Linked DNA regions of Homo sapiens: region 1 is linked to region 2. The links are contacts of gene promoters, found by promoter capture Hi-C in blood cells and fetal thymus (Javierre and others, 2016). All regions are on one chromosome and are shown on one strand. The core of a region is centred on a gene start or on the middle of the fragment in contact, and the rest is flanking DNA. Distances in the headings are between cores, read along the strand shown. Region 1 holds the start of DOLK (dolichol kinase). Region 2 overlaps DYNC2I2 (dynein 2 intermediate chain 2).

Region 1 (5,908 bases), core at 1,758-4,257, 310 kb after region 2:
GAGGTGTGGGCTGTCATTACTCCCATCTGCAAGAGAATTGAGGTTCAGCCTGGCTAAGTGACTCACCCAAGGTCACAAAGTTGTTTTTTTGTTTTGTTTTGTTTTGTTTTGAGACGGAGTTTCGCTCTTGTTGCCCAGACTGGAGTGCAATGGCGCGATCTCAGCTCACTTCAACCTCCGTCTCCCAGGTTCAAGTGATTCTCCTGCCTCAGCCTCTCTAGTAGGTGGGATTACAGGCATATGCCACCACGCCTGGCTAATTTTGTATTTTTAGTAGAGACAGTGTTTCTCCATGTTGGTCAGGCTGGTCTCGATCTCCCGACCTCAGGTGATCCACCTGCCTCGGCCTCCCAAAGTGCTGGGATTACAGGCATGAGCCACCACGCCTGGCCATTCAAGGTCACAAAGTTAGTAAGAAGCTGTGCAGCCAAGGATTCTGACCAGATTAGTTTGACCCAGAGACTAAAGTGTTAACCATTATGCTTTACTCCCTCCAGTGTCCACTCTGGCCTCCTCCGAGGCTGCAGGGCGAAAGAGGGGGCTCTATAGCACACTCAGGTTCTTTGAGTTGCTGGACTATCCCTTAAGACTCTTTTCTTTTTAAATATCAGCAAGGCTGGGATGGTGGCTCACGCCTGTAATCTCAACACTTTGGGAGGCCAAGGTGGGCAGATCACCTGAGGTCGGGAGATCGAGACCAGCCTGACCAACATGGAGAAACCCTGTCTCTACTCAAAATACAAAATTAGCTGGGCATGGTGGCGCATGCCTGTAATCCCAGCTACTCAGGAGGCTGGGACAGGAGAATCGCTTGAACCTGGGAGGTGGAGGTTGCGGTGAGCCGAGATCGCGCCATTGCACTCCAACCTGGGCAACAAGAGCAAAACTGTCTCAAAAAAAAATAAAAAAAAAAATATATCAGCAAAACTAGAACTAGGAGAGCTTTGCTTTTTATTTTAAATCTGAATCAACTGAAAAATCAAATCTGCTTTTCACACCTTGGCTCTTCATGCCCAAGTAGCTGTCTGCTGTGGGGACTGTTCACCCTCCCCATGTCTGTTTCCTCCGTCACTGCTGCTGCACTGTAACAGCTAGGCCATCAGCAATATCAGGAGGTAGAGAGGCAGAAGGAGATTGTCTATCTGTGTAGTGTATGCTTCCAGGAGGGACACAGTGCTGATGGACCCCAAAATCCAAGCATAACTGTAGTTTAGGTCCACTCCACTGTCAAAGATTAAGATCAGAGCTACAGAAATGATCTGCGCAAATATAGATGTCATGGTCCCCTCAAAAGTCTTTTTGGTTCCAGGCCAGCGGATCTCCCCCATGGTGCTACCGAAGATGGAGGCCACAGTATCACCCACACCCACAGCCAGGACACCGGCATAGGGGACGAGGGCCCTGGCTCCTCCCAGGCTACCCTTCTGTGTGCAGGGTCTGGGGATCAGCCAGATGGGAAGAGACATGCCCAGGAGCAGGTAGATGTGTGTCAGAATGAGTGGTCCACTGTCTCGTTCATCCAGAAAAAGGGACAGGAAGCTCCGTAGAGTGTGACCCAAAGGCTTGATGCGGAAGTAGCGCACATACTCCAGGAAGATGAAGACCGCCAGGCATACAGTGGCGGCTACATAGAGCAGTGGCCGGTCAAAGATGATACCTGGGATGTAGGTGGCTACCACAATGAGGTGGAAATACTTTCGGGCGATGGTGGGGGCCTGGTGCTTCTTGGACTCGGAAGATGACCGCTTGGCATTCTGGTACAGCACCACCAGGCAGGCCAAGGTGGCCAGCAGAGACCAATAGGCTAGGAGGTAGATGCGGGTGTCTGTCTGGAAGAGAAACTGAAGAAGCCAGAGCAGGGGATTCCTGCGGATGAGCCGGTGCAGCCAGGGTAGGACCACACCAAGGCTCAGCACACAGGTCATGAGGTGGAAGAAGATGGAGGAGGCCCAGGTGCCTGAGTCCATGAAGACAAACAGAGTGCTGAAGAAAATGCCCATGAGTACCATCCCTACTACCACCACCAGCAGGAAGAAGTCCACTGGGTCCCCCTGACTTTCCACCAGTGTCAGAGAGCGCTTGATGAGCTGGTTGAGGACAAAGCTAATGCCACCCAATACCAGCAGTGCCTCACCAGGGGTGAAGCAGCGGGGCAGCAGGTACAGCAGGATCATGTTGAGATAAACGAAGATCAGAAGGACTTCCAGGACTTCGATCACCTCCCCCACGCTCAACGAGTGCTTCATGATATAAATGATAACACCTCCAGCCAAGCCCAAGATGACACAAGTGTTGGTTGGCACTGGGCGAGTGATGCCGAGCGCCAACACTGATGAGAAGAGGGCCACTGCCATGCCAGTGGCTGCCACCACAATGCCAAAACGCTCAAAGAACGGGTTCCCAGCAGTCTGGCACCGCTCCTTCATGACTAGTCCAAGCAAAGGCATGACCATGGAGGCGGGCAATAGGCCACTGTTTGCGGACATTCGGAACTGGAAGACGGCGCTTCCCTGCTGTAGCAGCCGGTCCCACTTGTATTGGACGTAGAAGGCCTGCACTGCGAGGGCCACGGCGCACCACGAGTATCGGTCCCATACGGTTGCGTGGATGCTCAGCACCACTGCAAACACTACTGCCGCCTCTGCCAGCACCGATCCACTCAGCGGAGCCCCAGGCCCCGGGGCCGGAGATGGGCACTCTCGGGTCATATCTCTAGACCTGGGGCTTCACGGAGGCCGGGGCGACTACGGACGCCCTAGACTTCGGGCCCCTCAGCCCCGTCAAGCAGAGGGAGGCACTTTCACCCGGCCAGCAACCTTCTCCCTCCGTTCTCCAGCAGCGAGGAGGGAACTCCACCGCAGGTCACTTCTGCGGCCTGGGAGCTGGCGCCCGGCCACCCCCCACAGCCTCCAACCTACGGCGTAGACGTCGCCACTCTGCAGCCTTCCTCACAGTTACAGCCGCCCCCGCTGCCGGCTCCTCACCTCTTTGGGCCTCGCCATCTTGGCACCGCCCCGCGGCAACGTCACGTGACGAAATCCCCGCCCACGCTCCGGGTCCGGGGGCGAGCGGTCACGTGGGCATGGCGTCTGGGGGCGGGGTTAGGGCGAGCGGGCGCGCGAAGATGGCGGCGGCCGCCGGCGGGCCGTGTGTGAGGTGCGGAGCGGGTCGAATGGACCGGGGTGGCTGTGAAGCGCGGTGTCAAAGCCGAGCGGAAGCGGGGCGGGAATTGGAGGCGGGATGTGGCGACAGTGGCAGGGCCAACCCCGGCTGGATGGACGGGCACCGAGACGGGAGGCGGTTACGTCCAAACGGTCCCCGCGCGCGGGGATCTGAAGAGTCTTCTTCAGGAGGGGGGCCGGCTCTTCACCCCTTCCCTCCGCGCTCGGCCTCCCATCTCCTCACCCAGGGCCCTTTGCCTTCCTCCTCTCTCACCTCCGACGCGTCTCTTGGCGCCCCACCCGCGCTTCCTTCTCCGGCCGTGACGCTCCCTCGAGCCACGGGGAGCTTTGCGGTCTCCTGGGGTACCCCCCACCCACGTCCCTGCTGCAGGCTCCCAGTGTCCTGCCCCGGCGTCGAGTGCGCCCTGCTGGCTCCCCGACCTCTCCCGCGATCTGTTCTTGTTAGGATTTTGTTTCGCGTTGAGCGGAGCCACGCTTGCGGCTTCTGTCCTCTCCGCGCCTCGTATCGTTCTTTTCTTGCACTGAATCAAGTCAGCCAGCATGTCCAAATCCTCCAAGAGATTTCAGGGATTGAACTAGGCTTTAGGGACAAGAAGATGAAATATTATATACGAAAACTACAATTCTGACAAAGTGCTTTCTAGCGTCAGACCCTGGTGGAGCGCTTCCCAGGAGTTATCTCATTCAATTCTCGCAACTCCGAGAGGCGCCTTCTATTTCACAGATGACTCAGAAGTCCGGCTCAGAGCTAGCCAAGTGATAAAGAGAGCCTTCAAGCTGAAGTCTGCGTACCTCCAGTGCTATAACCAGACCACCACGCCTCCTTCTGTCTTCCACATTGCAGCTCGAAGGTCTTCGTTCTTCCCACCACCCTCCCTCAAAGTTAAACATCCCCGTCTCTTATCCTTCCCTGTGCCAGCAGTGTTTTCCCCACTTTTTTTTTTTTTTTTTTTTTTTTTTTTTTTTGAGACGGAGTCTCGCTCTGTCGCCCAGGCTGGAGTGCAATGGCACGATCTCGGCTCACTGCAAGCTCTGTCTCCCGGGTTCATGCCATTCTCCTGCCTCAGCCTCCCAAGTAGCTGGGGATACAGGCACCCGCCACAACGCCTGGCTAATTTTTTGTATTTTCAGTAGAGACAGGGTTTCACTGTGTTAGCCAGGATGGTCTCGATCTTCTGACCTCATGATCCGCCCGCCTCGACCTCCCAAAGTGCTGGGATTACAGGCATGAGCCACCGTGCCCGGCCCTAACAATATTATTATATAACAAGATTACTTTCCAAAAATTTAACAAATCGTTTTGTATATTGAGATTTTTTGCTTTTAGAGAGCAGACAAAATGGCTATGAGGCAGTGTACAAGTTTGTATGATCAGAAAGAGCAAAATTACCTCTGTTCTCTCATTTTGCAGGAGCAGTAGAGAACTGTGGACTATTCTGCTTGGAAGGTCAGCTCTGAGAGAGCTGGTAAGTGGTGGTGTTCTTGAGTGGGTTCTCTGGGTTCTTTGTGTAGCTTTTGTTACCAAAAAAAACCTTTTTTTAAATGTAGGAAGTAAACACATTTATTTATTTAGAGACAGAGTTTCGCTCTTGTTTCCCAGGCTGGAGTGCAATGGCGTGATCTCGGCTCACCGCAACCTCCGCCTCCCAGGTTCAAGCGATTCTCCTGCCTCAGCTTCTCGAGTAGCTGGGATTACAGGCATGCACCACCACGCCCGACTAATTTTGTATTTTTAGTAGAGATGGGGTTTTTCCATTTTGGTCAGGCTGGTCTCCAACTCCCGACCTTAGGTGATCTGCCCTCCTTGGCCTCCCAAATTGCTGTGATTATAGGCGTGAGCCACCACACCTGGCCTATTTATTTATTTTGAGATGGAGTTTCACTCTTGTTACCCAGGCTGGAGTGTAACAGCATGATCCCAGCTCACTGCAACCTCCGCCTCCCGAGTTCAAGCGATTTTCCTGCCACAGCCTCCCGAGTAGCTGAGATTACAGGTGCATGCCACCACACCTGGCTAATTTTTGTATTTTTAGTGGAGACAGGGTTTCACCATGTTGGCCAGGCTGGTGTTGAACTCCTGACCTCAGGTGATCTACTTGCCTTGGCATCTCAAAGTCCTGGGATAACAGGCGTGACGGCCACTTTTTTTTTTTTTTTTTTTTTTTTTGAGGGGGGTGTCTTGCTCCCAGGCTGGAGTGTAAGTAGCTCGATCTTGGCTCACTTCAACCTCTGCCACCTGGGTTCAAGTGATTCTCCTGCCTCAGCCTCCCCAGTAGCTGGGATTAGAGGTGCCCACCACCACGCCCTGCTGATTTTTATATTTTTAGTAGAGACAGGGTTTTGCCATGTTGGCCAGGTCGGTCTTGAACTCCCGACCTCAGGTGATCTGCCTGCCTCAGCCTCCCAAAGTGCTGGGATTACAGGCATGAGCCACCACACCCGGCTACGTTTTTTTGTTGTTGTTGAGACAGAGTCTGGCTCTCGCCCAGGTTGGAGTGCAGTGGCACGATCTTGGCTCACTGCAACCTCTGTCTCCTGGGTTCAAGTGATTCCTGCCTTAGCCTCTCAAGGAGCTGGGGATTACAGATGCATGCCACCACGCCCGGCTAATTTTTGTATTTTTAGTAGAGATGGGGTTTCACCATGTTGGCCAGGCTGGTCTTGAATTCCTGGCCTCAGGTGATCTGCCCACCTCAGTCTCCCAAAGTGCTTGGATTGCAGGCATG
Region 2 (5,301 bases), core at 1-2,500:
CCGGCGCAGGCCAGGGCAGTTTCCGGGTGCCCACGTACCTTCTTGAGCTTGGTGCTCCGTGGCAGCTGCTGCATGACCAGGGCGAAGCCCTCTGTGAGCTGCAGCTGGCCTACCCCGATGCCCTGCCAGAGTAGCACCTTCCCGTCGGTGGCCACACTCAGCACCTGGAAGCGGTGGCTGTGCCCAGGCTCGGGCAGCCACACCACCTGAGTTAACAGCATGCAGGGCCAGGATGGAGACAAGGGACACCTGCCCAGGTGTCACGCTCCACCCCTACCCTCCCTCTCTTCCAGGAAAAAAAAAAATTCTCCGGGAGGCCCCAGAACCAGGCTCACCCACCAGGGGGCAGGCCTGGAGGGTTCCCAGGGCCCTCTCCAGTCCCAGAATCCCAGCGCTGCTCACTCGGTGCCTGCAGAGGAGGCTGGGAATGGCCACAGGGCCCTGGGAGTGGCTCCTGAGGGGGGTGACTCATGCTGCGGGAGCTCCGAGAATGCAGGAGGCAGCTGTCCAACTGCCAACGCCCGGGTGACCTTCCTAGGAGAGTGGGCGCCCTCTCCCCAGCTCTGCCTCAGGGCCCACCCCGCCCGGCAGCCCCTGCCCTGACCTGGGACACAGGGTCTGTGTGGGTGTCATCCGTCAGGCCTGTGCGCCACAGCAGCGGGTCCTCAAGACGGCTCAGGTCCCACACCAACACCTCACCACTGTACAGCCCTCCTGCAGGGACAGTGGACCTGGGCAGAGGCTCAGCCCCACCCCCAGCCTGACTTCCTGGCCAAACACCCGCCCCAGCCCACCTACAGGGCCAGGGCCAGGGCCAGGCGGCAGAGCCACTTGGCTGGAAGTCATCCCCACAGAGGGAGAGTCCTAGCCCCCAGCTCCCCTGTTGTACCCCAGGGAGCTTTGCCGGACACCCCTGCCCTGCACCTGGCAGCTCCCTCCAGCGTTGCCTGCCCCCTACCACTGACGGCTTCCCAAGGGCACCTGCCTCTTCTGGCCTCTCCACAGCCCCCTGTCCTGGCCCCGACCCTGGCCCCCTTCCAGACTCCTCCCCCGAGTTCCACCCCTCAGGGCTCACTGCAGACCTTCACCTGGGCTCCAGACTGAGAGGGTCAGGGCCCGCCTTCCTGTCTCCGGGCCAAAGGGCCCATGGAAAGCTCCCTTGTGCCCTCTGCAGGGCGGGAAGCTGAGTCCTGAGAGGAGAGGAGGCGGACACAGCAGGCAGCTCACCTGCGACGTGGGAGGGCTGCGTGGGGTGGAAGGCCAGACACAGGACAGCGCTGGGGACCTCCACCACGGCCGACGGCTGCTGGGGACGCAGGTCTCGCCGGTCCAGGTTCCAGGCACACACGAAGGACTTAAGCGTGCTCCAGTCCCCATGGTCCAGCCTGTGCAGGGACAGGCTTGAGCCGGCTGTGCCCCTGGGTGGGGCTCCTATCACCCACCCCACCTCTCTCCCCACTAGCCCCGGACACACTCGCTGTGTCCTTGTCACCACCAGACACTACTCTGGGTATTGAAGTGGCCCACACTCCACTCTAGCACCCCAAGGGTGTGGCATTCTCTGGAAAATGGTCCCCAGGCACCAAGGACAGTCCATGCCATGCAGGATGGGGAAGCAGCTGGTGGGGCGGGCGAGGCAGGCAGGCCCAGGGCCTCCAGGCAGGGGGGAGGGTGATCCTGGCACTCAGCCCCACTGCCTGCTCTTCTGCCACTTGTTGTCAACCCTGCCCAGGAAGGCTTGAGAAGAGACTCCCAGGATGGCCAAGCTCTTAGAACCAGCCCTTCCCTGTGCAGCTACAGAGACAAGGCCCAAGGAGGGTCCTGGGGTGGCGAGCTGCCCCTCACCTGCCCCGCTGCCACTCACCGGCCGTAGGCACAGGCCACCACAGAGCCAGTGGAGTTCCAGGAGATGCTGGTCACATGCAGACCCTGCGCTTGGGCTGGCGGGTAGCCCAGGGTATACAGACAAGACACCTGCGGAGACGTCCCCAACCCTGAGTCCAAAGCCACCAGCAGGGGCCTCATGACTGCCTAACCAAACCCCACCTAGGCCAGGCCACCCTTAGCCCTAGAGGCCCTCAAGTCCATCAGCCAGGCCTAGAGGAAAATGTGGCACGTTCATCCCCACATCTGCCCCAGCAGAATGCTTCCAGAAGCCCAGAAGGCATGGCCTGAGAAGCAAGGCCGACCAGGCTCCCGCCCAGAGGGGTGGCTGCCCTCACAGGCACACTCCACAGTTTCCAAGCCTCAGGGGCTGCAGCAGGAAGGTGGGGATGGTTGCCCAGCAGCATAAAAGTGCCCAACGCGGCCAAGTACAAGGGGTCAAGCGAACCACCCGACGTCACGCTGTGCTACACGCACATGATTTTTTGTTGTTTGTGGTGGTTAGTTGGTTGGTTTTCTTTTTGAGACAGAGTCTCACTCTGTGGCCCAGGCTGGAGTGCAATGGTGCAGTCTCCACTCACTGCAACTGCCACCTCCTGGGTTCAAGTGATTCTCATGCCTCAGCCTCCCAAGTAGCTGGGATTACAGGCGCGTGCCACCAAACCTGGATAATTTTTATATTTTTATCAGAGACGGGGTTTCACCATGTTGCCCAGGCTAGTCTCGAACTCCTGACCTCAGGTGATCCGCCTGCCTCGGTCTCCCAAAGTGCTGAGATGACAGGCATGAGCTGCTGTGCCTGGCTGCCCACGATTTTTTGTCAAGCTCTGGCATCTTGCTTTCAGCCCTGCAGCCGGCCACAGCTGCATGTGAGGAGGCTGACGACCAGCCTAGCCAGGGGTAGGCACCAGCTGCCCAGGAAGTGGTGTGTGCCAGGAATCCAAACAGCCTCTCAGATCCTCTGACGTTTCAGATCTGTTGACCTCATGATTCTACATAAAGAAACTATCAACTGAGGGCCGGGCACGATGGCTCACGCCTGTAATCTCAGCACTTTGGGAGGCTGAGGCAGGAGGATAGCTTAAGCTCAGGAGTTCAAGACCAGTGTAGGCAAGATGGTGAAACCCCGTCTCTACCAAAAATACAAAAATTAGCTGGGCATGGGGGTCAGAGCCTGTAATCCCAGCTACTCAGGAAGTTGAGGTGGGAGGATCACTTGAACCCAGGACACAGAGGTTGCACTGCTGCTCTCCAGCCTAAGCAACAGAGCAAGACCCTGTCTCAAAAAAAAAAAAAAAAGGCCAGGCCTGGTGGCTCATGCCTGTAATCCCAGCACTTTGGGAGGCGGAGGCGGGCGGATCACAAGGTCTGGAGTTCAAGACCATCCTGGCCAACATGGTGAAACCCATCTCTACTAAAAATACAAAAAATGAGCTGGGTGTGGTAGCACGTGCCTGTGGTCCCAGCTACTCAGGAGGCTGAGGCAGCAGAATAGCTTGAACCCAGGAGGCAGAGGTTGCAGTGAGCCCAGATCACGCCATTGCACTCCAGCCTGGCGACAGAGCGAGACTCCATCTCAAAAAAAAAAAATGCATTTTGTAAAAAAATAAAAAAGAAACTATCCACTGGAAAGACTCCACACTCCACAAAGAGCTCCACAGCCACACCCCGCGCACTGCTGCAGCATGTGCAAGAGGTGCCTCTGCTGTGGAGAACAAGCTGCAGGAGACCAGGACCAGCAACTCCACTCATAGGTTTAGACCCTAGAGAAATGAAAACTCATGTCCACATGGACACCTGTACACCAATGTCCACAAGAGCATGACTCACTATAGCCAAAAAGGGGAATAGCCCAAATGTCCATTAGCTGATGAGTGGCTAAATGAATGTGGTCTGTCCATGCAACACCATGCAGCTGTAAAAAGGAACGCAGCACCAACCCAAGCCACAACACGCATGAACCTATTATTTTCAAACAAAGCTATACAATGGGCTAGGAGGTGGAAGGAAGCTTTTACAGGCCTTGTAATGTTCACTTTCTTGATCTGGATTTTGGTTCAAGGAATGTTTATACTTTGTAAAAAATCATCTCAGGAGGCTGAGGCAGGAGCATCTCTTGAGCCCATCTGAACTACAGCCTGGGCAACATAGGAAGACCCTAACTCTAAAAAAATTTTTTTGGCCAGGCGAGGTGGCTCACGCCTGTAATCACAGCACTTTGGGAGGCCAAGGCAGGCAGATCACCTGAGGTCAGGAATTCGAGACCAACCTGACCAACATGGTGAAATCCATCTCTACCAAAAATACAAAATTAGCCGGGCGTGGTGGCGGGTGCCTGTAATCCCAGCTGCTCAGGAGGCTGAGACAGGAGAATTGCTTGGACCCGGGAGGCAGAGGTTGCAGTGAGCCAAGATCATGCCACTGCACTCCATCCTGGGTGACAGAGCGAGACTCTGTCTCAAAAAAATAAAAAAAAAAGAAAAAGACAAAAGCTCCCTCATCTCAAACCCAATACTGTCTGCCCAACTGCCCATCAGCATTTACAGGGTCATGACTCTGGACTGTACTTGGAGGGCAGATGACCCAGAGCATGGCAGTGAAACCAGAGAGACTGGGGTTCAAGTTCTGGAGCTGTGTGTGTGGACCTGGATATGTCACTTAGCCTCTCTCAGCCTCATCTATAAACTGAAGATTATAATAGCACTACCTCATACAGTTTTTTTTTGTTGTTTTTTTGTCTTTTTTTGAGATGGAGTCTTGCTCTGTCACCCAGGCAGGAGTGCAGTGGCACAGTCTCAGCTCACTGCAAGCTCCGTCTCCCGGGTTAAAGTGATTCTCCTGCCTCAGCCTCCCGAGTAGCTGGAACAACAGGCGTGCACCACCACGCCTGGCTAATTTTTGTATTTTTAGTAGAGAGGAGGTTTCACTATGTTGGCCAGGCTGGTCTCGAACTGCCAACCTCAGGTGATCCACCCACCTTGGCCTCCCAAAGTGCTGGGATTACAGGCGTGAGCCACTGTGCCCAGCCTCATACAGTTGTTTTGAGGAGTGAAGAAGATACCACAGGAGACATTCTTTTTTTTTTTTTGAGACAGAGTCTCGCTCTGTTGCCCAGGCTGGAGTGCAGTGGCGTGACCTCAGCTCACTGCAAGCTCCACCTCCCGGGCTCACGCCATTCTCCTGCCTCAGCCTCCAGAGTAGCTAGGACTATAGGCACCTGCCACTACGCCCGGCTAATTTTTTTTTGTATTTTTAGTAGAGACGGGGTTTCACCGTGTTAGCCAGGATGGTCTCCATCTCCTGACATTGTGATCCGCCCGCCTCGGCCTCCCAAAGTGCTGGGATTACAGGCGTGAGCCACCACACCTGGCCAAGGAGACATTCTTAAACTGTGCCTGGCCCAAAGAAGGCCCTCAC

The links. The method cuts DNA at HindIII sites, captures the fragments that hold promoters and counts their contacts. A CHiCAGO score of 5 or more calls a contact.
Region 1: the fragment with the promoter of DOLK here is called in contact with a fragment that was not itself captured in region 2 in 1 of 17 cell types (naive B cells); the score reaches 6.5 in naive B cells.

The regions. Positions count from the first base shown.
Region 1 is chr9:128,944,596-128,950,503 of GRCh38, forward strand. It overlaps DOLK (dolichol kinase), which reads right to left and starts at 3,008. Exons shown (of 1, transcript NM_014908.4): 1 at 935-3,008. The coding sequence starts at 2,708. The coding sequence ends at 1,092. NUP188 (nucleoporin 188) reads left to right here and starts at 3,104. Exons shown (of 44, transcript NM_015354.3): 1 at 3,104-3,156; 2 at 4,594-4,648. The coding sequence starts at 3,125. RefSeq lists enhancers at 1,768-2,330, 2,331-2,892, 2,754-2,823, 2,893-3,454, 3,174-3,223. The HindIII fragment of the contact is 6,982 bases long and covers 1-5,908 here.
Region 2 is chr9:128,635,054-128,640,354 of GRCh38, forward strand. DYNC2I2 (dynein 2 intermediate chain 2) reads right to left here. Exons shown (of 9, transcript NM_052844.4): 3 at 1,865-1,974; 4 at 1,228-1,385; 5 at 605-714; 6 at 39-206. Among named protein-coding and RNA genes, the nearest start is that of DYNC2I2, 19 kb to the right of the region's middle. RefSeq lists enhancers at 1-839, 892-1,642. The HindIII fragment of the contact is 5,285 bases long and covers 1-3,893 here.